4 separate regions of the Homo sapiens genome follow, and all the other regions are linked to region 2. Evidence: promoter capture Hi-C in human tissues and cell types (Jung and others, 2019). All regions are on one chromosome and are shown on one strand. The core of a region is centred on a gene start or on the middle of the fragment in contact, and the rest is flanking DNA. Distances in the headings are between cores, read along the strand shown.

The links. The method cuts DNA at HindIII sites, captures the fragments that hold promoters and counts their contacts. A contact is called where the count stands out against the background at its distance.
Region 1: a contact is called between a fragment that was not itself captured here and the fragment with the promoter of RSF1 in region 2, in 3 of the 25 tissues and cell types used here (mesenchymal stem cells, pancreas and thymus).
Region 3: a contact is called between a fragment that was not itself captured here and the fragment with the promoter of RSF1 in region 2, in 2 of the 25 tissues and cell types used here (lymphoblastoid cells and mesenchymal stem cells).
Region 4: a contact is called between a fragment that was not itself captured here and the fragment with the promoter of RSF1 in region 2, in 2 of the 25 tissues and cell types used here (adrenal gland and lymphoblastoid cells).

Annotation. Positions count from the first base shown.
Region 1 is chr11:77,901,772-77,908,082 of GRCh38, forward strand. It overlaps INTS4 (integrator complex subunit 4), which reads right to left. Exons shown (of 23, transcript NM_033547.4): 16 at 5,946-6,039; 17 at 1,769-1,849. It also overlaps a transcript of AAMDC not described here. Among named protein-coding and RNA genes, the nearest start is that of AAMDC, 84 kb to the left of the region's middle. The HindIII fragment of the contact is 8,265 bases long and covers 1-6,311 here.
Region 2 is chr11:77,816,740-77,822,721 of GRCh38, forward strand. RSF1 (remodeling and spacing factor 1) reads right to left here and starts at 3,983. Exons shown (of 16, transcript NM_016578.4): 1 at 3,789-3,983. The coding sequence starts at 3,975. AAMDC (adipogenesis associated Mth938 domain containing) reads left to right here and starts at 4,405. Exons shown (of 4, transcript NM_024684.4): 1 at 4,405-4,502. RefSeq lists enhancers at 2,364-3,337, 2,633-2,742, 3,338-4,310, 3,863-4,032, 4,043-4,182 and silencers at 3,373-3,462, 3,603-3,692, 4,283-4,442. The HindIII fragment of the contact is 12,017 bases long and covers 1-5,982 here.
Region 3 is chr11:77,732,165-77,738,797 of GRCh38, forward strand. All of the region lies in intron 4 of RSF1 (remodeling and spacing factor 1), which reads right to left. RSF1-IT1 (RSF1 intronic transcript 1) reads right to left here. Exons shown (of 2, transcript NR_046822.1): 2 at 6,005-6,633. It also overlaps the pseudogene FTH1P16. Among named protein-coding and RNA genes, the nearest start is that of RSF1-IT1, 4.2 kb to the right of the region's middle. The HindIII fragment of the contact is 7,107 bases long and covers 439-6,633 here.
Region 4 is chr11:77,713,080-77,719,690 of GRCh38, forward strand. The region is part of intron 5 of RSF1 (remodeling and spacing factor 1); the gene reads right to left. Among named protein-coding and RNA genes, the nearest start is that of RSF1-IT1, 23 kb to the right of the region's middle. The HindIII fragment of the contact is 3,932 bases long and covers 3,297-6,611 here.

The DNA of each region.
Region 1 (6,311 bases), core at 2,370-4,869, 85 kb after region 2:
CTTAGTTGATGATGTGAAGATAAGAAAGTTTAATCACTAAGCAAACTGCAAAGCACTGAAAGCACTGCTTCTTACCCTAAATGAAGCCCACTCTGCTGTGGGAACAAATTAATATATATTATGTATGGAAACCCAATCCCCACAAAGTCCTCAAGAATTAAGCATCAGGAACTATTAACCATATGTTAGTTATCCTGACAGACTGTTCCATGGGCCTGGTCTGAGGGAGTTTGGGACAGAAATAAGTGCAAGAAAACATTTGTCTATGACCCCAGATCAAGTCCCCGATCTTGCTCGGTTCTATCCAAATAAGCGATTTTCATCAAAATGATGCTTCTCTTTTCCTTCTGTGCTTGCCTCCCAGTGAACACTCTAGGGTCACGGAAATGACTCCAGACTCTCTTACAATTGGCAATAAGACAAGTTAAATTACATGAGTGTCTCAATCCCTTTCTGTAAACAGGGAAGAAACAGTACCAATATCATGAAGTTTCAAGTATCAAATGGAGCATGCAATGTGTTTATCACAGTATCTGGTATACAGCAATGGTAATTCCTTTCCTCTTTTCCTTCCAAATTATTGCTCCCTGGTCCCATCCTTCCAATGTGGCTCAATTATCGGGTTCTAGTCATTAAATTCTACTCTTCTACAATAAGCCACATACCAGGTCTGAGAAAGAGTCTGGATCAGACAAGAGTTCAGCACTGTAGTAGAAAACAGATTCTGGGTATCAGAGGATCTGGTCTCAAGTCCTGACTGTATTACCTATAGCTCTATGAATTTAACCTTGCTGAGCCTTAACTGCCTCATCTCTAAAACAGACTTAATACTTATTCCTATCTAATGGGATTATTATGAGGGTTAATTAAGCTAATAGACTTGAAATCATTTAGTGAACTGTAATGTAACAATAACAGTCACCATCATTAGCTTCCTCCTGGGTCATTTACAGACTCCCTATCTGGAAGACTTGACCTGCAAGAGATCACCAAGTCTCAATACTCAGGTGCAAAGGGGAATGACTCAAAGCTAAAAAGAAATAAACTAGAGACAAATAAAATTAAAGCCTACTTAATGAACTACCCAGGACCTTTTAACGTTGAAGAGATGGTACAGGCTAAAGATATAAACAACCTTAACTGAGTTGGGCTACATTTTCAGATGAAAGATTCATGATAGTAGAGACAGCGTTTCACCATGTTGGCCAGGCCGGTCTCAAACTCCTAACCTTAAGTGATGTGCCCATCTCAGCCTCCCAAAGTGCTGGGATTACAGGTGTGAGCCACCGCGCCCGGCCCAACTGCCACATTTTATAGAAGAGAAAAAATCCAGGGAATTTAAGTAACTTGCTCAATATCACTCAGCAAATCAGAGGAAGACCTGGGACTAGGACCCAGGTCCCCTGAGTCCAAAGTGAGTGCTGTGTCTCCTAGTTATGCTCCTTCTCATATCACTAACTTCTGTCATAGCCTGAAATTAGGGAGGCCACAGCAGAGGTATAGAGCTACAGGAAGGCCTCTGGCTCCGCCTTGGACCAGACAATTCCTGGACAGAGACCTATTTGAAGGGAAGGTCTGAATAAGCTTACCTGTGTTGCTGCTGCTGAGGCCAAATCACTCTGCTTCAAATACAAAGGGGCAGCTACATGCCACAACTTTTCCTGCAAGGCCTACACAGACAGAGCTATAGGAAGGCCTCTGGCTCTGTCTTGGACCAGACAATTACTGGACAGAGACCTATTTGAAGGGAAGGTCTGAATAAGCTTACCTGTTTCGCTGCTGCTGAGGCCAAATCACTCTGCTTCAAATACAAAGGGGCAGCTACATTCCACAACTTTTCCTGCAAGGCCTACGCAGACAAATCAGGAGGGAACAGAATACCGAGGTCACAAAGACTGGCCTATCATTTGGGATTTACATTTTTGTTTTCCTTTGAAAGTCTCCCATGAACATGACTTCTCAATTGATCTTATTCTTTTAACCCAATAAGCTGTATCTATTATGGAGAAAGATGAGACCAATGGTTTGGGCTAAATGAATTCCCACCCATTTGATCCAATTCTTGGCCCAAAGGCTCTGTGTCCCAGATCAGTGCTTCTGGAAGCAGAGGACAGGAACCACGAAAGCTTCACCAGAATGCGCAGGCAAGCCAGCTTCCGGGCTCTAGGCACTCCTTGTTCCCAGAGCTACTGGACTAACCCAAGCCACCTAGATACTTCTTCCTTAACTGTGGTTCTTTTTTCTTTTCCCCTATGCTCATTATGTTGTAAGCCCCAACCACTTTATCAACATATTCAACTAGAAATCAAGCAGCTTTCCTAGATTTCTCCCTCTTTCAATCTTTCTACATTCAAAACCACCACTAAGAGCCATGATTTTACCTTCCATCTCTCTCCTCACCTATCCATCCACATGACCTCATCCCTTGCACAAACTTCTGTGACAGCCTCTTATTTTCTCAGTCCTTCTGAATTACAGATGTAATCAAATGACATTACAGAAAACCTAGACTAACACTGTCCAATAGAAATATAACATGAGCTATATATAATTTTAAATATTCTCGTAGCCACGGTTTTTAAATTACAAAGATGTAAGTTAATTTTAAGATACAAAGACTAAGTTAATTTTTTAAAAAAGTTTATTTAACCCAGTATATCCAAGATATTAACATTTCACCATGCAGTATTTTTTAAATTATTAATTAGTTTACATTTTCTCTTCATACTAAGTCTGAGAAATCCAGTGTGTATTTTGCACTTAATAACACATCTCAGTTTGGACTAACAACTTTTTGAGTGCTCAAGAGTCCCATGTATCTGGTGGCTATCAAATTAAACAGTGGTAGGTCTAAACTGTAGATAAAAACTATAGGAATTTCTGGAATATTTACTTCTAATCATTTCTTGTATGCATGTTTTTTGACAGTTGTAGTCAGAAAGCAGAATTAAGTTTGGGGATTAGATCATAATCCCAAAACATACAATCCCAAATGTTGAAATCCTCACATCCAAATTCTGGGGAAGTGATTAGCGTGTTTTGGGTTGTATGCAGGATAGTTGCATCATGTTAGTTGTATCATGTTAGGCACAACTATTACCATGTTATTGTCTTTATTTGGAAATTAAATATGGCTTAAGGAGATGCGTATGAGTGCCAAGCTGACAAGGGGTGGACTTGTGGACCTAATTTTAGATATCAGCTTGACTAGATTAAGGAATATCAGAAACCTGGTAAAAGATTATTTTGTTTTACACATTGAGGGTGTGTCTATGAGAGTGTTTCCAGAAGAGATTAGTGTATAAATCTGAGTGTACTAAGTGGAGACTATCTGCCCTCAATGTTGGCGGGCACCATCCAATCAGCCAGTGGCCAGGAGAGAACAAATACTTAAGACGAAATGGGCTGGGAGTGGTGGCTCATGCCTGTAATCCTAGCACTTTGGAAGGCCGAGGTGGGTGGATGACCTGAGGTCAGGAGATGGAGACCAGCCTGACCAACATGGCAAAACCCTGTCTCTACTAAAAATACAAAAATTAGCCAGGCGTGGTGGTGCACACCTGTAATCCCAGCTACTTGGGAGACTGAGACAGGAGAATTGCTTGAACCCAAGAGGCAGAGGTTGCAGCAGTGAGCCGAGATCACGCCACTGTATTCAGCCTGGATGATAAGCTGAGACTCTGTCTCAAAAAAAAAAAAAAGGCAATATAGCAAAACGGACTCTCTGGGTTCTGCTGCTTGGATATCAGAAATCTGACTCCATGAAAGTGCATCATCACAATACTGACTTTGTGTATAAGCATTGAGTGTGTACACAAAATGTTGAAACTTCCTCGATAAATGAGATATCCTTTTCGTACATCTGCATTTGTGAAAGATAAAATTTCTTGAGATCTCAGCTCTTTGGGTGACTGCATATGCAGTGGTGACCCAGCACAGTTTCCATCAATCTCGTCAAAAGACTTGAGGTTGTTGGGCACAGTATTTCAGATGACCACAGTTAAAAAGCTGGGTATACACAATTAACAACCAAAGTGATATGCATTTATACCTTTCCCTTTATGACCAATTTCTTTATAAATATGGCTCATCTGCTCATAACTGTTAGACCCACCCAACTGTCATTAGTAACCTGAGTGTTTATGCTTGCAAAAATGTATGTTGTTATTGTCTGTTTTATTATATTAAGTGATGTATAAAGTATTCTGTTGTGTTTTTATGTTTCTCAAATAAATTCCCCTTTAAAAAATAAATATCTTTAAATTTTTTAAATTATTTCTTCCATAATTATATTTTGGGGATTTTGATATTTTCTGGGCTGTGGTTTTTGGGATTTTAGACCTTAGGGATTTTAGTCTTTTGGAATTTAAACAGTTTAGGACTATGATGTTCTGGACTATCTTTTGGGATTATGATTGGCTCCCCTTCTTTTGGGTACATAACATTACACCCTAAATATTTTGTCATGTTGTTGTATAATTCTTCATAAAGAATTACTGACTACAGAATATACTGCTAGGTAGCTGTACCAAAATTTATTTAGCTTTTTTCCTGTTATTAAACACACTTGCCTTGGGTTCTGGCTCTGGGCCCCTCACCTACACTGTCACCCCTTGTCATTGAATAACCAACAATTATGTGTTCTTTTTAGGAGTAATCACTTCTCTTTCCTCACCCATATTTTGCTACTATAGAAAAGTGGATTCTTCTCCATGGCCTCCTTGAATTCCTGGGGTTTCACAGAGGCTTGGAAAAGCCAAACAACCTTGCAAAGGGGCAGGAAGGAACTTCTTGGAGTGATGAAAATGTTCTACGACTTGCCTATGGTGGTGATTACACAGATATATACATTAGAAAGAACATATCTAGCCTAACAAGGACCATTTAAGTGCCAAGTATACATACGCACCTTTACATGTATAGGCACACCTGCACAACTGTAAATATAACATTTAGCACAAGTTCACACAGTAGAAAATAACTTTTGACTCCCTGATTTACTCTGACTTTAGCCAAACATCATTAATCACTTTGAAAACAAAGAACACTTTGAACTAGGGCCAAGATAAAAGTTCGTCAAGTGAGAAGGGCTCTCCTAAATTCTGTGCCAAAATTTATAGTAAAATTCTGCTACAGAAGCTGAAAGATACTGAACTCATTTAATTGTTTTTTAACTCAGCAAAACTAAATAGATTCTTGGGTACCAATTCTGTGTATAGCTGACTACTGAGTAAGAAACGCCAGCAAGCTGGTCTTTTTAAAAGCAATGAAATCAACCTTTTAACTTTGATGAAGTGCAGTGAGTTTTTTTGTTTGTTTGTTTGTTTGTTTTCTTTAAAGACAGGATCTTGGTCTGTCATCCAGGCTGGAGTGCAATCTCACTGCAGCCTTGACCTCCTAGGCTCAAGCAGTCCTCCCAACTCCAGCCGAGTAGCTGGATATACAGGAATGCACCACCACACCTGCCTACTTTAAATTTTCTTGTAGAGATGAGGTGTCGCTATGTTGCCCAGGCTGGTCTCAAACTCTTGAGCTCAAGCGATCCTCCTGCCTTGGCCTGCCAAAGTGCTAAGATTACAGGTGTGAGCCACCGCACCTGGCCTTCAAATGAGCATTTTAAGAAGATAGTCTAAAACTTCATACAATTCCTTTGCTAATCAAATTATACAAAACATTTACAACCTTGGGATTCTAACTAAAATGATTATCCAATCTGCTCTAATTATATTATGATAAAAGAATTCTCCCCAAATTTACAAATTCCTATGAGTTAATATTTCGTTAATTAGAGACAAATGTAATCACACTGCAGAGTACATATTTCTCCATTGTCAAGTGGTTGCATTAAGACCATAAGTTTTATAACTTATGGCCTCACACACTGCTGGATCCACAAAGATGCATTTTTAGCAACACAATCATAAATGGAATGGATGCAAACCAACCTTGATGAGAAGTAGTTGACAGCGAAGATAGGTGGCAGAGAAATCAGCTACTCCTGCCAATTCAGATTGAAGTTCTCCAAGTCTTTGCAGATCCCTATAGTAAATAAAACCCCCAAGGCAAACACAGGATAAGGATAATGCCACCAACATAAAGATCATGTCAAAAGCATTTTATCATTTTATACCTAGTAAACAGTCATACATTTTTAAATGACGACACTGAATGCTGGAGTGGTTATAATAAAATTGGTTCACTCACACTGTGATAGTAGTTTAAGCTGATGTAACCCTTTTGGAAAGCAAAACCGTACTGTTATAAAGGCACATATATGGTAAAATGTTTGATTCATAGCTTTACACTGAAAA
Region 2 (5,982 bases), core at 2,733-5,232:
ACGTCAACTTTATCCATAACCACCATCATCTACCTCCAGTTAGGAGAAACCTGGGGAAGTCCACACAAAGCACAGAATTGGGAGGACTAAAGTAGACTGCAGGGAGAGGAGGATAAAACACCACCTTCATTTGGCACATCCTTTTATAACTAGTATCAACTATAAATCTAAATTTTTTGTTGACAATTTCAGCATATATGTGGGCTTTTCAAATAAGAATTTGACTAACACCAACAGTTAGCTGTATACACTTGAAATCTCTCTCTGTAGCTTGATTTTCCTCCTGAAAAATAAAGGCAATGACACAATAGTCCCTTCTTTCTTGCCCCGAAATTCAATGATAGTTTCTAGAGCAAAGGTTCTCAAACATTCTAGCTTCACGGCACCCTCAGTATCTCAGTAATTTTCTCACAGCAGCCCTAGGCCAGAAATAATAACACTTCCACTTATTAAGTAGTCAGTAGCCATGTGAAAAAATAACCTAGCTAAATTTCAACAAATAATGTTTTTACTTCATTCTTAACCATAATTACTTGTGAAATGTGTATTACTGTTGGGCACTGCACAACTTTTCAAACCTTGGAATCAGAGTGGACCCTGCTATCCTCTTTCCTGCTGCATACTGACTTTTTTGTGAATTTTACCACAGCAACCGCTAAAAAACCAGCTTCACAAAGACATATCATCTATAGAAATGTGGCACAACCTTGAAACCATGAAGTATGTCAAGGCAGTAGCTCACCTGGCAACCAGCAAATTTCGGCTACCACTGTATCCTACTTGAAAATTTAAACTATCAGATGGAGTTGGCAACAATGCTCTAGGGTGCCTTGGTGCAGTTTGGAAACCATGATACTATGGCAAGGTATATAATTTTGTGGCTTTGGACTCAGACTTGGGTTGGAAATCATATTCTACCATTAACTATAGACTCTTAAGCACCTTAATCTATTGAGCCTTAGTTTCTATGCCTGCCAAATAGGAATAATACTATCAACTTCAGAGAACAGTTGCAAGGAACTAAATCCATGTCTTTTAACTCTTGTACACTACAACTCTTTCCCAAAAAGACTCAGTTCAAATCTTGTTGGCTGAGCCACTATCATTTTATCAGCTATTTGAAACAGGCTGAAAGTTTGTAATAGCTGATAAAACGACAGAGGTTCACCCAACAAGCCAACTTTGATGATGATATCATGGTTCATCATCAAAGTTCTGAAAATCGTTTCCCTGCACAGTAACAGCATTTCACCTGCAGAGACTTCTCATTTGCCAAGTGTTCTGAACTGTGTAACATTAATTAATAATTATTCTAAGATCACCTTATGATAGGATCTATTATTATCAGTCCCCTTAGCAACTCTATACCAACGGTAATGCAGTGGCTGAAATAAATGATCCTTCTTAGCCCAGGTTACCTGTCATTTTTACTTACTTAGTGAACCACTATTCAATTCAACTGACTCTAATATTGTATTCCTGTGATATTAATATAAACTAAATGCACTGGTCAAAATACCTAAAATAAATGTAGATTCAAGCAATCTCATATACTACCCAAAATACCACGCCATCCCAGAAAACCTATGCATTTCAACTTGGTCCAAAGAAATTACCAAAACAATTTACTAGCCATCCTTTCCCCAAATGCCCACAGTTCGTTCTCTGAGAGATACATTACTATCACTTCCCAAGGCATCCTAAAAGCAACTTACTAAGGCATCCTACTTCACAATGACTACCTTCTTAAAAATTAAAAAACGGGCCAGGCTTGGTGGCTCACGCCTGTAAAGCACTTTGGGAGGCCAAGGTGTGTGGATCACGAGGTCAGGAGTTCGAGATCAGCCTGGCAAACATGGTGAAACCCCGTCTCTACTAAAAATACAAAAATTAGCCGGGCTCGGTGGTGCACACCTGTAATCCCAGCTACTCGGGAGGCTGGGGCAGGAGAATCGCTTGAACCTGGGAGGCGGAGGTAGCAGTGAGCCCAGATCCTGCCACTGCATTCCTGCCTGGGCAACAGAGTGAGACTCCGTCTCAAAAAACAAATAAAAATAAAAAATATAAAAAAGAATGTAAATACAATTTGATAATGAAATTACTACAATGGGAGCTTAATTTTTAAACAAATTCTGTGAGAAGCCTTTATATAATGTAATTAGTCACCCTCCTATTTTGTACTATTTTTTAAATTAGCCTTTTGTAAGCCAGTTTGTTACAGGTAGAGGGAATGTGGACAGGTAAGAACAGATTACTAGGCTTATATTATAACTGCTGTATTAATTTGAGTCTTCGGTAGCCATAACATCATACAGATTCTTTATAGGTAATATTCTGAAGAACTTCATACTTGGCGCTTCCTAGCAATGCAAATAAATTCAGTTAACAGAAACTTCTTCATTTACATAGAGAATAGAAGAGCGACCCTGCTTTCTTGGAAAGGAAACAGCTATCTGTCTTGTACAATAACCAATCCACTTTGGCCAGCTAATATGGACAAAAAAAGAGACCTATTTGGAAAACGTTTCTTCTCCAGCCAAGGGCTGTTTCCAGATAAAGGCAATGCTCAGAGTATAACAAAAAAGCCTTCTCTGAGGAAAGAAAAGTGCCAGAAAAGGAGAGGCAGGGATCGGGAATAAATGGGGGTGAGTATAAGCACTCAGTGTGAAGGCTGGAGGCAGCAGGCGCAGCGCTGAGATGCTCCAGCAAAAGAACCAGCAGCAGCAGCAGGAAGTTTCAATGGGGCCGGGCAGAGCATGCGCCCTGCACCCGCGCGGTGGCCTTATGTGGAAGGAGCACCACTTGCGAACACCAATAATAGACCAGCGGCACCAGAGAGAGAAACATGAGCAACAAGCACCTTCTTCAACTGTTTCCCCCTCCGTCAGAGCCCCTCCTCCAGCTTACATACTAACCACCCCACCCTACCGTGCAAATGGGAGGGAGACGACTTCTTCGCCTAAGCCCGGCTGCCAAGATGAAGGGGGAAGGGATTGGAAAAGTGGGGAGATGCTCGCCTATTATTTTGGGGGAGGTGGGGAGAGGAAGGAGAACTATGGAGGAGGAATTAACCCTCTCCTCTCCACAGTGGAGCTGAACCGACTTCGCCCCCCTACCGAGAATGGAGAAGAACCCCCTCCCGTGGGGGAGGAGCAGACCTCCCCACTTCAAGGAAGGAGTTTTAGGGGTTAAAGCAGCCCTCGAGGGGAAGGGAAAAGGGACAAATCTCTCAGGGGAGTTCCCAACAGAGGGAGGGAGAGTTGAGTGTCCGCTGGCCCCCGCCCACCCAGGTGAAGGGAGATAAGGAGGTGTCCGGAGCAGCCGAGCCCAGCCTTCCCCGAGATGGTCGGGAAGACTGGTGGGAGGAGGGGAGGGAGTAAGGGTGGGGAGGAGGAGAAAAGCGCAAAGCTGGCCGGAACCTGCGCTCCCCTTCCCCCGCCGCCAAGGGGGAGACGGGGTGGGGGGCCGCCCTCCGCCGCGGAGAAGCAGTCCCCGGGGCTGCCGACCGGCACAATGACCCCTCCCCGCCTCCAGCCCACACCTAGCCCGCAACGCCTCCACCTCAGCTCCCCGCCCGGCCGAGTGGCCCTAGGGGGCCTCCGCCCCGCCTCCCCACTGCCCAAGACCCCGGGGGCTGGGCGGAGAAGACCAGCCCGGCGGAGTTGCGTCCCAGGGGGAAGACAGAGCCGCGGAGGCCCGAGCCGCGAAGAACCGGGGCGCCTGTGAAGAGCGGAGAGTAGCAGAGCGCCAGGGCCGCTTCCCGCCGGGCGTTCGGGCCCCTCGCTTACCTTCTCCGTTGCCGACGTCCGGCGGCGGCGCCTGCAGCACCCGCTCCAGCTCAGGGAACGGCAACTCAGGCAGGTCTAGCAGCGGCCCGTAGCGCTCCAAGAAGGAGCAGACTACGGCGAAGTTGGGGCACGAACCCGGGCAGCCCGGAGGAGCCATCACCGCCGCCGCTGCCGCCGCCGTCGCCATTTTGAACTGGAGGATGGAGGAGGAGGCGATGGGGGGGCGGGGGAAGTTGTGGTGCCGAGGGATGGCAAGGCAACCTTACAGACGACAGGAGGCGCTCTCAAGTGGGCTCCTCTGCGGATCCCAGCGTCTCAGGGACGGCTCCGCGATCCCACAATACATCGGCGGCCCGGAGCAGTCGAGAACCGAGTCAGACGGGAGACAGAGCGGCCCTCGGCGCCTTTCACTTTCCGCCCTCTTTCCGCCCCCTTCTCTCCTCCCCTTCGGGCTTGCCACTGCCTCGTGTGACAGGGGGAATGAAAACAAGGGAAGCGGGGCGGGGAGGCGGGCTGGAAGCGGGAGGGGCGGGACTTCTCGAGAACAATGGCCAATGGACGCAGAGGGGGCGGGGCCTCGGGCGCTGTTCAACTGCAGGGCGTATTCCCGGAGGGCAGTTGGGGAGCGCAGATCCCGAAGCAGCGCTGGGAGCGTAAGTGCGGGCAGAGCACTGCGCCGTTTGGGAACGCAACTTTGAGGAGACAGTGCGGTGGGTGAGTTTGCGGGGGAATCCTGAAACTGGGCCACGAGATGGTGGAGAGGTTGAGGAGAATTAATAAACAGAAAAAGGGAATAGGGCGGGGGAAAGCACAGTTGTGGGAGAAGGTTGGGAAGGGGAAAGGTAGAGGTGTGCCCTTAATTAGGGGCTGGGCTGGGACCTCGGTAAGATGTCTCTGTGGAAGTTTGCCGACGGGGTATTGCTCTCTGCTGGGGTACAGGAATCGCAGCTTTGCTGGAAAAGCAGGATCTGAGGGAACGGAACTCTGGGGGAATCGTCGGAGTGAGGAGTTGGGGCCCTGCTGGGAGAAGAGGATCTGAGGAGACCAGGCTCTGCTAGGGGGCCATGGTGTGAGGGGAAGGGGCTCTGTTCAGGGACCAGAATCGGAGTGTGGGCTGGGACTCCATTGAGAGGCGGAACATGACAGGAGACGGTGGAGCAGCGAAAAGTTTGTTAGAAGACAGGGTTCCACTTCGGGGCGGGGCGGGGGCAGTGAACATTCCCACAAAGAACGCCAGAGAGAAACTACCAATAATGTAAAATAGAATGTGCAGCCTGAGAAGCAGCAGTACACGTTATGCTTAGAAGCCTGAGCTTTGGATTCAGCCAGGCCTGAGTCCTAGCGGGGCTACTTCATGACACTGTGGAGGTTTCTTTATTTCTTTGAACTCCTTAGAGTGGGGTGATAATAGTACCTACATCATACGGTATTACTAGATAAATCACAGTAAAGTGATTAGCACAGTGCCGTAGCACATAGTGAGTACTTTAAAAATATTAGTTATCAAAAAAGGAGTTCCTATAATTTAGACTGAATTCCGCTATATTTATTTAGTCTATAATTTATTACTTTGAGAATTTTCTGAGTGCATTTAAAACTCAATGTAGTACCTAATTCCTAAAAAGAATTTGGCCGGGCGCGGTGGCTCATGCCTGTAATCCCAACACTTTGGGAAACCGAGGTGGGTGCATCACCTGAGCTCTGCAGTTCCAGACCAGCCTGGGCAACATGGTGAAACCCCGTCTCTAGTAAAAATAACGAAAATTAGCCGGGAATCCTTGGGAGGCTGATGCAGGAGAACCCCTTGAACCGGGGAGGCGAAGGTTGCAGTGAGTCGAGGTCGCGCCACTGCACTCCAGCCTGAGCGACAGAGCAAGACTCCACCTCAAAAAAAAAAAAAAAAAAAAAGAATTTGAAGCAAGGTACAACACAAACCATGTAAAAAAGAGAAATCTGTAATTATAGAAAGATAAGAAATAGATGGGCAAATAATTATATGAGTAACAGGGAAAATGGTCACACAAACACCGAATTTTTTTCTTCATTTCCAGGTTTTAAAAAGGGGAAAAACCATAAGGGTGTGTATTATTCCCATTATCTAAAGAAAGAATACTCAATTTATCAAGAGAAAAATTCTATATTGTAAGAAGAATTTATTGCCTTGAATAGTGATTCATAGTCTTGAGTGGTATAC
Region 3 (6,633 bases), core at 2,742-5,241, 85 kb before region 2:
CAAAAGAGATGATTTTGGGGCTTTAAGATATGACTGCCCTGCTGGATTTCGGACTTGCATGGGGCCTACAGCCCCTTTGTTTTGGCCAACTTATCTCATTTGGAATGGCTGTGTTTACCCAATGCCTGTACCCCCATTGTATCTAGGAAGCAATTAACTTGCTTTTGATTTTACAGTCTCACAGGAAGAAGGGACTTGCCTTGTCTCAGATGAGATGTTGGACTGTGGACTTTTGAGTTAATGCTGAAATGAGTCAATACTTTGGGGGACTGTTGGGAAGGCATGATTGGTTTTGAACTATGAGGACATGAGATTTAGGAGGGGCCGGGGCAGAAAAATATGGTTTGGCTCTGTCCCCACCCAATTCTCATCTTAAATTGTAACTGCCACAATTCCCATCTGCTGTGGGAGGAATCCGGTGGAAGGCGATTGAATTAAGGGTGCAGGTTCATTTCCTGTGAGTGAATGAGTCTCACGAGATCTGATGGTTTTAAAAACAGGAGTTCCCTGCACAAGCTCCTTCTTTGCCTGCCGCCATCAATGAAAGGCATGACTTGCTCCTTCTTGCCTTCTGCCATAATTCTGAGGCCTGCCCAGCCACATGGAACTGTAAGTCCAATTAAACCTCTTTCTTTTGCAAATTGCCCAGTCTTGGGTATGTCTTTATCAGCAGCATGAAAACGGACTAATACAATAGATTTTTAATTTTATTAATTCTAGAACTTATCACAAATGGAATCAAACAGTATGTGCTTCTTTCACATACAAGGAATTTTGAGACAAATCCATATAGTTTCATAGGTCATCCCTTTTTATTGCTTAGTAATAATTCATTGTATGAGTAATGTTAAGAATAAAGATGCTATGAACATTCTTATACAAGGCTTTTTGTAAACATGTTTTCATTTCTCTAATATAAATACCCAGAAATGAAATTTATAGGTTATGGGATAATAGTTTGTTAACATTTGAAGAAACTGCAAAACTTTCCCAAAGTGGTTGTATCATTTTACATATACAAGAAGGTGTTTCAGTTGGTTCATATCCTTGTTAACATTTGGTGCTGTAAGCCATTTTCGTTTTACTAATTCTAATGGAAGTAAGGTAATACCTCATTGTGGTTTTAATTGGAAATTCTACAATGAATAATGATGCTAAGCACTTTTTCATATGAATACTGGCTATATATATATATATTCTTTATGAAGTAACTGCTTAATAGTCTGCATATAACTTTATCTTCCTTAGTATACTTGGTACAAAAGTACTTTCTGTAGTCCCACTAAGATCCTGAAGAAGCTTGTGATGGAATCTGGTCTATGGTCTTTATTTGCTAAAATTCTCTAATCATTAATAACCAAACACTACCACCTTGTTATGTTTACATCTTTGATTTTTTTTTTTTTTTTTTTTGAGACACAGGGTCTCACTCTGTTGCCCAGGCTAGAGTGCAGTGGTACAATCACAGTTCACTGCAGCCTCAAGCTCCTGTGCTCAAGCAATCCTCCCACCTCAGCCTCTCAAGTCACTGAGACTACAGGCAAGTGCCACCACACCTTGCTGATTTTTGTATTTGTTGTAGAGACAGGGTTTCATCAAGTTGCCTAGGCAGGTCTCCAACTGCTGGGTTCAAGCAAACTGCTCACCTGGGCCTCCCAAAGTGCTGAGGTTATAGGTGTGAGCCATCATGCTGAGCCCATCTTTTTCATTCCTAAACAAATTCTATTGACATACCCCATGGAGTGAATAAAATCACTTATTACATCATATTTGATTAGATGTAAAATTTTTTTTTCTGTACTTTTATCTTCTTTCATTGAGGCCTAAAGATGAAATAATGCTTTTGTGGCAATTCTGTTTTAAACATTAACTGGAATAAGTAGGACACTGGCTGGAGCTTAAACATTTTTGCTATTGAAACCTGTTATAATACTTGATTGAGCCATATGAAATCACCATTTTTATAGGTCAAAATGTTCAAATGTTAACAATTTCATATGGTTTAATGAAACTTAACTACTTCTATTGTTTTGTAAATCACATACTAAATCTTGTTTCAACTTAAAGTATAATTATATATAAGTTAATTGCTTCCTATCTATTCATCTAATACATATATTTATATTATTATTATTACTTTTTTTGGGGGGGGGTACCAAATTTCTTCATCTGAAGGAATGGCACAAATCAAAGAACTTAGGTGGATGTTTTGGTACAACTTATAGAAAAGGTAAAGGAAACCCCAACATGCATGCACTGCCTTGGTGACCAGGGAAGTCACCCCACGGCTACGGGGAAATTAGCCGAGGCTTAGCTTTCATTATCACTGTCTCCCAGGGTGTGCTTGTCAAAGAGATATTCTGCCAAGCCAGATTCGAGTGCTCCCATCTTGTGCAAGTTGGTCACATGGTCATCCAATTCTTTGATGGCTTTCACCTGCTCATTCAGGTAATGTGTCTCAATGAAGTCACACAAATGGGGGTCATTTTTGTCAGTGGCCAATTTGTGCAGTTCCAGTAGTGACTGATTCACATTTTTTTCCAAATGTAATGCACACTCCATCACATTCAGCCCGCTCTCCCAGTCATCACAGTCTGGTTTTTTGATATCCTGAAGGAAGATTCGGCCACCTCGTTGGTTCTGCAGCTTCATCAGTTTCTCAGCATGCTCCCTCTCCTCATGAGATTGGTGAAGAAAGTATTTGGCAAAGTTCTTCAAAGCCACATCATCACGGTCAAAGCAGTAAGACATGGACAGGTAAACGTAGGAGGCACAGAGCTCTAGGTTGATCTGGCGGTTGATGGCGGCCTCTGAGTCCTGGTGGTAGTTCTGGCGCACCTGTGAGGTGGACGTGGTCCTCATGGCGGCGACTAAGGAGAGGTGGCGGCGGTGGCAGTGGCTGCGTGGCGCTGGGGCGGCGGCAGGGGCCTTGGGGCGGTCTGAGGGTGCCGTGAAGAGGTGAGGGAGGGCTGGCTATGGGCGGCCGGCTGGGGTGGGGGACGAGCACCGGGTTCCGTCCAAGCACTGTTGAAGCAGGAAACCCCGACGACTCTCGGCAAAGAACGTCTCTATATTTATATTATTAATTTTGCAACTTGCAGAAATGGAAGTTGCTACGTAACAGTACAAGTTTTAAGACTGTGGTGATGTCATGGTATGAAATTTTCAGTAGATCAACTATGTAAAATTATCCCTTTTTGGTGGATTCTCATTTTTTAAAAATTCCATTTGATGTTTAATTTGCAAAGTTCAGTTATATTTCTAAATTTATCAATCATTAAGAAGGCTGACTTATTAGCTTTAGAAAACGGAACCCTAAAGACTAGATAACTTTTGTTATATAATCCTCTTTTAAGAATTAGGTAGAAACACGTTTCCAACACCAGCCGATCACCAAGAAAATAATACTGTTACTTTAAAGAAATTGTTTTAAGAAAAAACAAGAAGCTTTTAATTTACTAGTAAAAAATAATACTTACTAGCTAAGAAAAGCACCTAAATGCAACCTATTAAATGAAAAAGTCAAAGTCAAAATCTCATTTGCTTTACTTGTTCTTCCCTTATCACTTAATTTTCTTTTTTCTTCTTTTTTGAGATGGAGGCCGCTCTGTTGTCGCCAGGCTGGAGTGCAGTGGCGCAATCTTGGCTCACTGCAACCTCTGCCTACTGGGTTCAAGTGATTCCCCTGCCTCAGCCTTCCGAGTAGCTGGGACTACAGGCACACGCCACAATGCCAGCTAATTTTTGTATTTTTAGTAGAGACGGAGTTTCACCATGTTGGCCAGGATGGTCTCGATATCTTGACCTCATGATCCGCCCGCCTTGGCCTCCCAAAGTGCTGGGATTACAGGTGTGAGCCGCCGCACCCGGCCATCACTTGATTTTCTAAAGAAATCTCTTGCTAAAAAGATTACTGCCTCTTACAAAACTCCACTTCACATAAACTTGCACGTTTAATTGAAAAATGTGTGACAACATCTATCAGTCTTAAGACAATCACTCCCCTGCAATGTAAAAGGAAAAACAAACGTTCTTGCTCCTGTCAAATTCAGTTCTGCTTCCCCATAATTTGAATCCAGTGATCCTGGCTCAGCCTTTGAGATATTCTTCTACAAATCAATCCTTTAAATGTTTGAAGACATTTATGTCTGAGTAAATTTCTGCTAGATAAAGCATTTTCAGTATTCAATCATCTTCTTTGTGGTTGTTCCCATAATGGACTTTACTATATTAATGTTTCTTTCAGAGTCTGCCATTCAAACAGAAATACCATGCTCCAGGTATGATCTCATCCAAGTCAAATGAGATGATGCCCCACATTATTTTAGGCACTAAATATATATTAGTGACAACTAAGATCTTATCTTTATGAGGAGGCAAAAATTATTACAATGTTTTCTACATTCAACCTTTGCAACAATGAGAGACCTATGTGGACAAGACAGTTTACTATATTTGTCAGTAAGAGTTCCACTGTGTTGGGTTAAAGCTAATTGGAATGTCATGTCATAGAACATCTCACTTATAATATGCATAAACACACCCAACTGAAAATTTGACATAAATTACCATCCGTCCCCAGAAAATACGCATATAATATTCACCTAAAATCTATTCTTTACAAGTTGAGGCCTTTCACAGGTGCCTGCAGCCCCTCTTAGAGATCTTAGAGCCATACTATTCACTATTACATCACCAATTGTTTAGCATAGTACCTATTACACAAGGATGTATGTAATAGAATTTATAAATTTAATGAAATAAAGGAATGTTAGTATGACAATCAGCTGTTTAAAAATTGAATTTCATTACACAAAATCAGAGAGTCAATAAACCAAATGATTTCTGAATGCTCCCAAATATTTCTGCGTTATTTGGGCAATGTTCCCTGGCTCATTGTAAATAGAAACATATGTATTCACAGATGTCATCAAAATGGCTAAAAATAACCTGGCACCATTTTCTAAAGAAATTTGTGGTTGTGAAAATGAGAAAACTATGCGATGGGTATGGTGGTTCACACCTGTAATCCCAGCACTTTGGGAGGCCACAGCAAGTGAATAGCTTGTGCTCGGGAGTTCGATACCAGCATGGTCAACATGGCAAAACTCTGTCTCTACTAAAAGTACAAAAATTATCCAGGTGTGGTGGTTCACACCTGTAATCCCAGCTACTCAGGAGGCTGAGGCAGAAGAACGGCTTGAACCCGGGAGGCAGAATTTGCAGGGAGCTGAGATCGCACCACTGCACTCCACACTGCAGCCTGGGCAACAAAGCGAGATCCTGTCTCAAAAAAAAAAAACCAAAAAACAACAACAACAACAACAAAAAAACGGAAAACTGCGTGCAGGCATTAATCTACACAAGCATTTCCTTCTGAACAATTGCCACATACACCATTTTGTTTATCAAAAACAAATTTTAACAAATGGAAAGAAGTTTTATGTGTTTTGGGGGGTGTGTGTGTGTGTGTGTGTGTGTGTGTGTGTGTGTGTGTGTGTGTTTAAAAAGAGCAGAAGCCCAAGGAACAAAACATGGAGAAATGGTCAAGCATGAGAAGAGGTGAAAGCAGAAAGCAACACCAGGGGAATTTTCTGACCTTTCTGCTGATAAATATTTCTTTAGTGAATAAACTAAATTTCAGTCTTTGGAGTTAGAAAGGTTGTAAGAAAAGCGAATAGCTGGCCAGGCACGGTGGCTCACGCCTGTAATCCCAGCACTTTGGGAGGCTGAGGCGGGCAGATCACGAGGTCAGGAGATCAAGACCATCTTGGCTATCACAGAGAAACCCCATCTCTACTAAAACTACAAAAAATTAGCCAGGTATGGTGGCGGGTGCCTGTAGTCCCAGCTACTTGGGAGGCTGAGGCAGAAGAATGGCGTGAACCCGGAAGGCGGAGCTTGCAGTGAGCCAAGATCGCGCCACTGCACTCCCGCCTGGGCGACAGAGTGAGACTCCGTCTCTAAAAACAAAAAACAAAAGAAAAGCGAATAGTTAAAAAGGTGGAAATAAAAAGAGAAAAGGTTTATTGAGCATGTATTACAGTGTCAGTACCATTTCTCATATATTCCTCACAACAACTTTTTGAGGAAGTATTATCACTTTCATTTTAAAGTACAGGAATGTAACTCTCAGAAAAATTAAGTACATTAGCCCCCCCATATCCACAGATCAAAATATTTAGAAAAAAATGAACTAAAGTTAATACAATAAAAATACAAATTAAAACTACAGTATAACAATTCTATACCTAGCATTTACAATGCATTAAGTATTATAAGTATATGGGAGGACGTGCATAGGTTATACACAAATATTATGTAAAGGGCTTAAGCATTTACACATTTTGTTATCCATGAGGGTCTGGAACCAGTGCCCCATGGATACCAAGGGACAAAAGTAATGTGTCTACAGATGGTAAGTGGATGAACCCAGATTCAAACATAACTGTTAACTCTAAAATTTCACATCATGCATTAAGGTATAATCTATTTAAAACAGTATACATTAGACATTTTTTTTTCTTTTTTTTGGAGACGGAGCCTCGCTGTGTTGCCCAGGCTGGAGAACAGTGGCGTGATCTTGGCTCACTGCAACCTCCACCTGCTGGTTCAAGCGATTCTCCAGCCACA
Region 4 (6,611 bases), core at 4,013-6,512, 100 kb before region 2:
ACTGGGGTGTCACTGCTCTTAGATTCCTCTCATAAACACATATATGCAGGTATACTAACTCATACATATGATTAAACTTTTATTTATTTATCACCTACTACTGATGTTTTGTCAGTCATTTTGGCTATCTAAAGCTCATTCACGAGAAGATTCCTATACAAAACACTCACGGGAAAAGAGATTATAGATATTGGTAACAGCTTATCTGCAGTCTATCTGAAAGTCACATTGGCTGGACATAAAGTCCCTGGCTGACATTTTCTCCCCCCGAGAGTCTCTCAAATACATTATGGCATTTTCTTCTGGAATAAAGCACTGATGTCAAAAAGAGTGAAGGCAGTCTGATTTTCCTTCCCTTGTAAGTCATTTGGTCTTTTTGTCTGGATACGCAAGGTATTTCTTTCTTCAAAGCCCTGTAATTTTACTAGAAAATGTCTTGATGTTGAATGGTCTGCACTGAGTTTCCAACTACTTCAGGAAAGTGTTTTCCAACACAGTCTTTAGTTATTTATCTGTCCCCTTGCTTTTTCTTTTTTGTGGACACCTATCTCTTGGATCTTCTTTGCCTATTTTCAGTATAGCATTTTCTCTCAAATCCTTATATCCTATGTTTCTTTTGTTTTTTACAAATACCCTGTTTTCTAATTTTCTATTTTGTAAAGGCATTAATTCTTATGTTTGTTGACTCAGATGTTTATCTTAATCTTTTTAAAATTTTAACTCTTCTGAGTCCTACCACTTATTATAGTGCTCATGTTTGATGGGCATGTCTTTCTGAGAAGCTTTCACTGTCCGTAGGGATGTTATTCTGCTTCTTGTTCTCTCTTGTTCTTATAATCCCAGGAGATTTGAACTTGCTCCCTTTTAGTTGTCTGGTTTTATGTACAAGTAGATTTCCTAAACTTTTAGAAAAAAGTCATTTTTATGATAGTTTTGCCAATTTCATAACTTTAGAGCTCCCGTTATTTTTGTGAAATACTCAAATTAAAGCAATGTACTTTATGAGATCACCTAACTCTATTCTTCTCCCATAAATTTATTTGAACCTTCTTTTTGTTTGTCCTGTTGTCCCTGTCCTACTTAATTTGGAGCCTATGCCCAGCAGTTTCACATCAGCGTGGAGCTTAATCCTGGAAAGGCTTTGGGTGGTGAGGATTGAGAATTCATGAGGCCCATAGTACCTGAGAATCTTTAAGACCTTTGTTGTAGATTTTGTCTATACGTTTTTGTTGTTACCATCAATATGTTCCTTTTATGGGGGAATTGGTAGAGACTCAAAATCCACACCACTATTACTTTCCAAAATTCATGAATGATAAATTTTCCCCTTCTAATTCAAACCACAACAAACTCAGAGCAAACCAATTTCAACAGTTCCTCCAATCATGAAAGATTTCTTCTGTTTCTTTCTCCTTTTCTTCCTTGCTTCCTTCCTTCCCTCCTTCTCCAATAAGGAAAAATCTTTCACATAAGAAGCACTAGAGGCCAGGCGTGGTGACTCACACCTGTAATCCCACTTTGGGAGGCCGAGACAGGCAGATCACTTGAGCGCAGGAGTTTGAGACCAGCCTGGGCAACATGGTGAAACCTTGTCTCTACAGAAAATACAAAAATTAGCTAAGCGCAGTGGCGCATGCCTGTAGTTCCAGCTACTCAAGAGGCTGGGGTAGGAGGACTGATTGAGCCCTAGAGGTGAAAGCTGCAGTGAGCCATGTTTGAGCCACTCAACTCTAGCCTGGAGACAGAGCATAAACCTTGTCTTTAAAAAAAAAAAAGGCTTACTCCTGTAATCCCACTGCTTTAGAAGGTTGAGGTGGGAGGATTCCTTGAGGCCAGGAGTCTAAGACTGGGCAACATAGCAAGACCTCATCTCTACAAAAACAATTTTTTTTTAATTAGCTGGACATGGTGGCACATGCCTGTAGTCTGAGTTACTCAGGAAACTCAGGTAGGAGGATTGCTGGAGCCCAGGTGTTCAAGGTTACAGTGATTTATGATCATGACACTGTATTCTATCCTGGGCAATTGAGCAAGACCTTATCTCTTAAAAAAAGTTCTTAAATTATTGGGAATGATAGAGGAGTTAAAAAATTATTTAAGTTCTTTAAAAAAAAGCAGCAGCACTATAGTCTGTATCCTATTGTTTATGGCAAAAAAATACAAGAAAGAAATGCAAACGTCAATGTATTTCCTGTCAATTTTTTCTACTTAACTCAAACATGATGTAAAAGACAGATGGTGATAATAAAGAGTATCTTTTCTTTTATTCCTATAAAAGGAAACTATTTTAGATATCATAATGTTGTAACAATAACATCTGTATTTATTAGTCTCCCTATACTTGTTTAAAGTAAAACAATGTTTTATTTTATTTATTTATTTTTTTGAGAGGGAGTTGCACTCTGTCGCCCAGGCTGGAGTGCAGTAGCGCAATCTTGGCTCACTGCAACCTCCATCTCCCAGGTTCAAGCGATTCTCCTGCCTTGGCTTCCCAAGTAGCTGGGATTACAGGCTCATGCCATCACACCCAGCTAATTTTTGTAATTTTAGTAGAGACGGGGTTTCACAATGTTGGCCAAGCTGGTCTTAAACTCCTGACTTCAAGTGATCCTCCCGCCTCAGCCTCCCAAAGTGTTGGGATTACAGGCGTGAGCCACCACACCCTGCCAAAACAATGTCTTATATAATAAAAATAGTAGTTTTTTTTCCTTTTTTGAGACAGGGTTTCACTCTGTCGCACAGGCTGGAGTATGGTGGTGTGAGCACGGCTCACTGCAGCCTCAACATGCTGGGCTCAAGCCTGCATCAGCCTCCCCAGTAGCTGGGACCAAAGGCGTGCAACACCATGCTTGGCTAGTGCATTATTATACATTCAGTACATAAACTTTTTGATCCCCATCCATAAGTTTCTAGAAATTGCCCACAAGTATCAAAAAATGTTCAATCTTACTACTCATCAGGAAAATGTAAACTAAAACCACAATGAGTTATCACCTAACGCCTGTTAGGGTGGTTATTATCAAAGACAAGACAACAGGTGTAGGCAAAAATGAGGAAAAAAAAAAAGAAAGAGAATCCCTGTACACTGTTGTTGAGAATGTGAAGTAGTACAGCCATATAGGAAACAGTATGGACGTTCCTCAAAAAATTAAAAATATTAAGTACTATAGGATTCAGTAATCCCACTACGGGGTATATCCAAAGAAAATGAAACCAGTTTGTTAACAAGATATCTGCACTCCCATGTTCCCTCCAGCATTAATCACAATAGGCAAGATATGGAATCAACCTAAGTGTCCATTAACAGATAGAAGGATAAAGAAAATATGATCTATATACATGATGGAATATTATTCAACATTAACAACGAAAGAAATCCTGTCATTTGTGACAACATGGATAAACCTGGAAGATACTATGCTAAGTGAAATAAGTCAGGAACAGAAACAAATACCCCATGATCTCACTTACATGTGGAATCTTAGAGTTGAACTCACAGAAGCAGAGTAGAATAGTGGTTATGAGGGACTGAAGGTGTGGGGAGATGCTGGTCAAAAGATAAAAACTTTCAGTTACGAAGAGTAAGTTCAAGAGATCTACTACTGTACAACATGGTGACTACAGTTACAACAACGTACTGTATACCTGAAAATTGCTAGGACAGGAGACTTTAAGTGCTCTCATCACAAAAAAGATAAGTCTGTGAGTCAATGCATATGGTAATTAGTTTTAGACATTCCACAATATGGAATTAGTTTTAGACATTTCACCATAAATATATACAACTTTTCTTTGTCAATTAAAAAATTTAAACCCAGCCAGGCATGCTGGCTCATGCCTATAATCCTTGCACTTTGGGAGGCCGAGACGGGTGGATCACTTGAGCTCAGGAGTTCAAGACCAGCCTGGGCAACACAGTGAAACCCTATCTCTACAGAAAAGGCAAAAATGAGCTAGGCATGGTGGCTTGTGCCTGTAGGCCCAGCTACTTGGGGGTCTGAGGCGGAAGGATCACTTGAGCCCAGGAGGTGGGGGTTGCAGTGAGCCAAGATCGCACCACTGTACCCCAGCATGGGCAAAAAAAAAACAAAAACCAAAAACCAAAAAAAAAAAAAAACACCTTGCAATCTAGAATAAAAAAATAATATAAATACAGGATAAGGGTGTCACCCTTGGGGCCTCCTGAATACAGTGAGAATCCTGGAACTTTGGTCCACAGAGTTGATAGAAGAGATATTGGCTTCCATGGAACATGAGGCTTTTGAGTGGTTCCTGGACCCTCTCAACATAAATCCCATCTGCTTGTTTCTCCAGTTGTCACCTGGGAGAAAACAGCTTCTGGATGGCCATAAGAACTGTTGCAAAGACTATTCCTAAGGCTAGATGTTGCTCCTGTTGGCAAGCTATGATCCCTGTCCTAGATCGATCTCCGTATACTGATGCCAAGTGTTGTCTGTAGTAGTTTTGCGAATCTGAATACTGAAACCTAAGAAGGATCCCGACAGGGACTAAAGATATAAAACTGCAATGTATGGAAAAATACTGTGTTGTGTAGCTCATTTATTAATGAACACATTGACTCATGTATGGGAGCTTATCCAATTCACAAGTTTACCATGACAATGCCATGTTCCACTTTTAATTTTTTTAATACAAAAAAGTCCCTAGATAACGATACAGGGAAGTAAGTTCTTTTATCTCCAGTCATATTAAAATTCTCATCAAAGTTACAAAGAAATCATTATGAGTAACATCATAAATATCTGTGCTTTCATCAGGTACAATAGAAAATATAAAAAATAATTTAACATCTTGTCTCACTTATTACCAGTAATCTATTCACTACGAGCAAGAGTATTTCCAATTGTCCTTACATATGCAAATGCTCATTCTAGTTTGATACACTTTTTTGCTGCACTCAAACTCAAAATGAAAAGAAAGTTTTGGCCGGGCATGGTGGCTCACACCTGTAATCCCAGCACTTTGGGAGGCCAACGTGGGCAGATCACCTGAGGTCGGGAGTGCAAGACCAGTCTGACCAACATGGAGAAACCCCGTCTCTACTAAAAATACAAAATTAGCTGGGCCTGGTGGCACACGCCTGTAATCTCAACTACTCGGGAGGCTGAGGCAGGAGAATCGGTTGAACCCAAGAGGTGGAGGTTGCGGTGAGCCTAGATCGCGCCATTGTGCTCCAGCCTGGGCAATAAGAGTAAAACTCCGTCTCAGAAAAAAAAGAAAAAAAAACAGTTTTGATACACGTAATAGTTTTCTCTTAAGAATATATAGCTGCACATCTCAGCATTCAAAAATGAATCTCCTTAAAATATCAGTCCTCCCCCTCCCAATTTCTTCCTCAGGTACCTTTTACGTTAACCATCATAGTTTTTACAATGGATAGTTTCATAGTATTACATGTTACAGACTGAATTGTGTCCCCCACAAATTCATATATTGAAGCCCTAATCCCCAATGCGACTGTATTTAGAGACAGAGCCTTTGGTGAGGTAATTATGGTTAAAGAATTCTCACAAGAGTGGGGGACTTTAACATTACAGGAATGGTGCTCTTATAAGATCAGAGGAACAGAAAACAGATAGCTTTTTCTCCACACACACAGAGAAGAGAGTCATTTGCAAGCCAGGAAAAGAGCCCTCATCAGAAATCAAATTTGCTACTTTTAACTCCAGAACTGAGAAAATAAGTTTCTGTTGTTTTAAGCCATCCAGTCTGTGGTATTTTGTTATGAATAGCCTGAACAGACTAATAGACTACGTTAAGTTATATTATTTTGCCACATAGAACTTAAGCTTTATATCTGACATCACATTAATAATGATCAAAGGAAAATCATCAGTAAGTTAATCTACCTACTATAACTATACTGGGCTGGGTGCAGTGGCTCACGCCTATAATCTTAACATGTTGGGAGATGGGGGGGAGGATTGCCTGAGGCCAGGAGTTTGAGACCAGATGGGGCAACATAGTGAGACCCTGTCTCTACAAAAAATTAAAAAAGTAGCCAGGCATGGTAGCATGTGCCTGTAGTCCCAGCGAGGCAGGAGGATCCCTTGAGCCCAGGAAATGGAGGTTACAGTGAGTTGTGATTGTGGCACTAGATTCCAGCCTGGGGAGTAAGAGCAAGACCTTGACTCTAAAAATAAATAAATACAAAAACCAACTATACTGACATACTTCACTTCAACAATTAGCAACTCTCTCCTTTTTCTGAAATAATTCTTGGTCTTTGTTATTCCAAAATTGATAAAGACATGAATACAATAAATATCTTATTTTCATGTTAACTACACTGTAAGAAAAAAATATAAGTCCAAGCACCTGAGACTAAGCCCGATTTTAGAGGACAAAAGAAAGGAGTATGGCAAAATGGAGTGTAAATCTCACGTAAATAGAAACAACCATTACTCAGCTACAGAGTATTTTTGACATATAAAAATGATGATCCAAAGTTGACAACTTTTCTAATTTTCAATTTTAGATGTCGACAGCAACTTCATTTAAAAAATCAGTCATATGAAAACATATGTTCCCTCAAAAATTTGTATATTAACATTCACCGCTGCATTATCTATACCAAAAGGTGGAAAAAT